Regions from separate parts of the Homo sapiens genome. Here region 1 is linked to region 2. Evidence: promoter capture Hi-C in human tissues and cell types (Jung and others, 2019). All regions are on one chromosome and are shown on one strand. Each heading gives the region's core, a stretch centred on a gene start or on the middle of the fragment in contact. The rest is flanking DNA. Distances are from core to core; before and after follow the strand shown.

Evidence for each region. Contacts are between HindIII fragments. The study calls those that stand out against the background at their distance.
Region 1: a contact is called between a fragment that was not itself captured here and the fragment with the promoter of EPHX1 in region 2, in 1 of the 25 tissues and cell types used here (psoas muscle).

What each region holds. Positions count from the first base shown.
Region 1 is chr1:225,961,590-225,964,289 of GRCh38, reverse strand. It overlaps the pseudogene NDUFA3P3. Among named protein-coding and RNA genes, the nearest start is that of LEFTY2, 22 kb to the right of the region's middle. The HindIII fragment of the contact is 6,601 bases long and covers 1-2,700 here.
Region 2 is chr1:225,808,684-225,811,383 of GRCh38, reverse strand. It overlaps EPHX1 (epoxide hydrolase 1), which reads right to left and starts at 1,260. Exons shown (of 9, transcript NM_001136018.4): 1 at 1,215-1,260. RefSeq lists a silencer at 1,083-1,302. The HindIII fragment of the contact is 8,152 bases long and covers 1-2,700 here.

The sequences.
Region 1 (2,700 bases), core at 122-2,621, 150 kb before region 2:
GGCTGAGTGGGGGCAGAATTACAGTGAGGCTCCCGATGACGAAGGAGACCACCAGCACTGGCTCCTTGGCCCAGGAGTTCTTGAGGAAGGCGCCAAGTCTCACAACCATCTTGGTCTCGGCTTTATATATATATATATATATATATTTATTACAGTGGGAGTGTGTGAGTTTGTGTGTGATTAGAGATTTCATCTCACTATGTTGCCCAAGCTGGTCTTGAAGGGCTCAAGCAATCCTCCCGCCTCAGCCTCCCAAAGCACTGAGAATAGAGGCATGAGCCACCGTGCCCGGCCACATCACGTATTAACTTGCATTTCCCTGATGACTAATGAAGCCAAGCATTTTTTCCTGTTGATTGGCCACGTGGATATCCTCTTCTACCATGTGCCTATTCTAGTCTTTTGCCCATTTTGTGAGGTTTTTTTTTTGCCATTTTTTTCATTGAATTGTCTGACTGTCCTTTTCTTATTGACTTTTTTTCTTTTTTTTTTTGAGATGGAGTCTCGCTCTGTTGCAGTAGTGCGATCTCAGCTCACTGCAACCTCTGCCTCCTGGGTTCAAGAGATTCTCCTACCTCAGACTCCTGAGTAGCTGGGATTACAGGGGCCCATGACTATGCCTGCGTAATTTTTGTATTTCTAGTAGAGATGGGGTTTCACCATATTGGTCAGGCTGGTCTCGAACTTCTGACCTCAGGTGATCCGCTCACCTCGGCCTCCCAAAGTGCTGGGATTACAGGCGTGAGCCACTGCGCCCAGCCTCTTATTGACTTTTAGCAAGTTTTTCTATATTCTGGATTCAAGTCCTTTGTCGGGTATATGAATTATGAATATCTTCTCCCACACTCTGGCTTGAATTTTCATTCTTATTGGTGTCTTTTGAGGAACAGGACTTCTTAAATTTAATATAGTTTAATTACCAAGTTTTTGTAAATAAGAATAGCCTAAATCAATACTGAGAAGTCATATTATAGCTGTTATACCGGTAACAAAACAAGAAAGCTAATTTTGAAACTTCCCTGTACTGCTGAGGATTCTGGGAAACAAATACACTCATTTCATTGCTCAAGATTTTTTTTAATTTTTAATTTTATTATTATTATTACTACCATTATTATTTTTGAGGCAGAGTCTCACTTTGTCGCCCAGATTGGAGTGCAATGGCGCGATCTCGGCCTACTGCAACCTCCGCCTCCCGGGTTCAAGCGATTCTCGTTCCTCCACCTCCAGGTGGGAATACAGGCACCCACCACACCCAGCTAATTTTTGAATTTTTAGTAGAGACGGAGTTTCTCTACTACAGAGAAAGGAGAGGCAGGCCAGGCTGGTCTGGAACTCCTGAGCTCAGGTGATCCGCCCGTCTCAGCCTCCCAAGGAGCTGGGATTACAGGTGTGAGCCACGGTGCCTGGCCGAATTATTATAAAATATATAATTTTTAAACATTTGATAAGCTCTTGCCCTAACCCTTCCTCTCTTACAGGGCGTCTCATAGTCGCTGCCTGAATCCTCCGGCTTGACGTTAAGTTAGAAGAGCAGGAGTTTTTCCATTAACCAGTTAGGGACTCTGGGCAAGTCCTTTGACCTCTCTGTCCTCGGTTTCTTCGTCTGGGAGGACCCTCTGCACCCCCTGGGTTTAGAGAAGATATGACCGTTCAGCAAAAGCACCTGAAGACAGCGCTGCAGAGGCACGGTCAGCACCGTGATTCCCATGTCTGCAGCGACCCCTGCTGGCTGCCGGCCCGGGCTCGGGGTCCACCGAAGCCCGCCTCCAGCCCCTACTTCTGTGCTTCCTGGAGGGCACTGCCCAGGAGCCTGGGCAGCTGCAGGTGGGTGGGTCCTCTGAGTCCGTTTTCCCCAGTCCTCCCTTTCGTCTTCTTTCCTCCTTCCCCCGCTACAGCCTGGGGTGGGACAGGAACCCCGAGAGACCTCACACAATTCTTCCCGGTAACTATCCCCCACCCTTGGACATTGCTTGACCACTTTAGTGTGCAAGACCTTTTTCACGAATACTCTTTCACTGGCGTGCTCAGAAGGAAATTTCTTTGAATGTGTGGGTTTATGAAGACAGCTTATACAGCCAAGAAGTACTTCCTTCAGAAACTAAAAATTCCGGCCAGGCGCTGTGGCTCACGCCTGTAATCCCAGCACTTTGGGGGACCGAGCCGAGCGGATCACAAGGTCAGGAGTTCGAGACCAGCCTGGTCAACATGGAGAAAACCCATCTCTACTAGAAATACAAAAATTAGCCGGGCATGGTGGCACATGCCTGTAATCGCAGCTACTCGGGAATCTGAGGCAGGAGAATTGCTTGAACCCGGGAGGTGGAGGTTGCAGTGAGCAGAGATCCCGCCACTGCACTCCAACCTGGGCGACAGAGTGAGACTCCATCTAAGAAAGAAAGAAAGAGAGAGAGAGAGAGAGAGGGAGGGAGGGAGGAAGGAAGGAAAAAGAAAAGAAGGAAAGAAAGAAAGGAAGGAAAGAAAGGAAACTAAAAATTCTAAGACATCCCAAGGGAGGATAGGACTCTTCCCCTAGACATCCCCTCTAGGGGATGTGGCGGGTGGGGTCTGGACCACAGGTTCTGGTGCCTTGCTTCATTCTCCATCCCCACACTTCATGGAGTTGATGTTCTCACATCTCATGGTTGATCAAACGGAGTGTCCGAGTGGTTAAATAACTTGCCTAAGCTTCTAAGTAGG
Region 2 (2,700 bases), core at 11-2,510:
GGATCCAGGCTTTGCGGAACCTGAAGTTTAAACAATGGGAGGTGGGCTATGGAGGGGGCATTCAACTTTAAGAAAAAAAAGTCAAAATTAGGATTACAACATTGCTAGGCACCCCACCTCCAAGATCTCGGGAGCCGCCAGGGCAAGGAAGGAGCCAGAAGCTCAGAGAAAACCGACATCTGCCAGGGAGGGAGGCAGGCGGCCACTCGGTCTCCGCGGCGCTTTTGCTCAGGTTGACCACATTCCCTGGCTTCAACTACAAGGTGAACTCCCGGGCAAGTTTCCTGTTCTACAAGAGGAGAGGGCTGGCCTTCAATCCCGAGACCAGAGCGAGGGGGTGCCGGGCGGCGGCTGCGGCAGCAGATGGAGATGAAAGCGCATTTCAACTAAAAGGTGTGATCAGTGTCAGGCCTCTGAGCCGAAGCTAAGCCATCATATCCCCTGTGGCCTGCACCTACACATCCAGATGGCCGGTTCCTGCCTTAACTGATGTCATTCCACCACAAAAGTGAAAATGACCTGTTCCTGCCTTAACTGATGACATTGTCTTGTGAAATTCCTTCTCCTGGCTCATCCTGGCTCAAAAGCTCCCCTACTGAGCACCTTGTGACCCCCCCCACTCTGCCCGCCAGAGAACCCCCCTTTGACTGTAATTTTCCTTTACCTACCCAAATCCTATAAAACGGCCCCACCCCTATCTCCCTTGGCTGACTCTTTTCGGACTCAGCCCGCCTGCACCCAGGTGAAATAAACAGCCATGTTGCTCACACAAAGCCTGTTTGGTGGTCTCTTCACACGGACGCGCATGAAAATCAGTGTTCCGACTTGGGTGACAAATTAAGTGCATTTCACCGCCGAGCGAGCCACGGCCCTGGAAGCAGAGCTCGCCCAGGCCAGGGGACGCGGTGCGCTCTCGGGGTCGCGAGCCTCCCTCCCTGCGGCGTCCGCCCACAGTCTGGGACGCGGAATTCCCTGCGAGAAGTCCGCGGTCGCCTGCAGGCTCCTTCCCCCAGTAGGCGGCACGCGCAGTCTCCTGGCCGGGGCAGGAGCTGGGGGCGGACCAACTACAAGTCCCTCTGCACCCCTGCGGGCCGACCGCAGCCCCGACCCCTCGGCGCCCCGGCCCGCCGCCCACCCCGGCGGCCGAGCCCGCGCGGAGCCCGAACCGCGTCTGCGTCCGGGGAGTGCGGGCCCGGCCGGCCCCGGGCGCTTACGGTCTCGGCTCGCAGGCTCCGGCGGCGGCAGGCGCGCGATCTCTCCGGCTCCCTGGCTCTCCTCGGCTAGTTTTCAGCAGCCCCGGCGCAGTCTCCGCCCAAGCCCGGCCTCCGAGCGGGGCGTTCCCCGGCCTGGAGGACCCGGGAAAGTCTCTAGGCCTGCCTAAGGCTCCACCTCTGCCAGGGATAAAACGGGCTACTTAAAGGGCGGTCCGCGGCCCCGCGGCCAGAAATGGAGAGAAGCGTTTGGCAGCTCCTACAGCAGTTTGATCCCGTAACTTCGTCAGTTGAATCTAAAAACAAAAATCCAAACTTGCATGATGTATGTCCTTTTTTTTTTTGGAGACAGAGTCTCACTCTATCACCCAGGCTGGAGTGCAGTGGTGCGATCTCGGCTCACTGCAGCCTCAAGCGATCCTCCCACTTCGGCCTCCAGAATAGCTGGGACTACAGACTGCGCCACCACACCTGGCTAATTTTTTAAGTTTTGTAGATACGGGGGTCTCACTTTGTTGCCTAGGCTGATCTTGAACTCCTGGGCTCAAGCGATGCACCTACCTCCGCCTCCCAAAGTGGTGAGATTATGGGCGTGAGCCACTGCACCTGGCGGTGTATGTCTTTTTAATTTCATCTTTCTAGCAATTCATTCTTAGTATATTTAACAAACATATTGGTCCGTGACATGCTTGGAAATCTAAAAACAAATTAGTGTCTTTATACAGAGAATGTGAGAAGCAATGGTCTGAAGCACTCTTGGGGGTCTTCATGGTGAGGACCAGTATAGGATGCTGAGTTCAATGCCAGGGGAGCAACCTCTTAGTGAATCCCCTCCCGCTTTGGAGAGAGCTCAGGGCCCAGGCGGGTGGTTGCTGGGGCTCTTTTAGCTTCCGTGAGAGCGTTGATCCCCAGCCCCTCATCGTTAGAAAGCCTGTCCCATCGCCTCTGCCATCACCCCTCCTTAGCTTCTCTCTTCACCTGCTCAGAGGTGCAGTTCTTTCAACCACCAGCATCCTCACGATCTCGGTGGACAGACTACAGCTAGGAGGCCACATGCAGGGCCCGTGGCTGGAGTTCTAAGCTTCTGACTGTCACCTTGCACACTTCAGGATAAGGTTCACCACCACCCACCTTCCCTTGGCCTCCAACCTTTCTGCTCACCCTGGCCCAAGAATTCTGGCCGGCAGACGCACTCACCTCACTCCCACCTCCAAACTTTTGCTCTTGCAGTACTGCCGGACAGGGTGCCCTCCTCCATCCACATGTAGAGTCCTCTTGTCCTTTAATTCTACACCCTCCTATAAAAGCTTTCTCTTGCAACTGCAGTCTCTGACATCTCTGTATTCCTTTCAGAACCTGCAGTCTGGGAGAGTTCTTTCCCCTCCCCTCCAAATAGTTCACACAGAAGCTCTGCCTCTGGCCACTTCACCAGGGGACCCAAATTCGTTACTCTTAAAACTGCAGTGATGGTGAAACAGGTAGGAGTCAG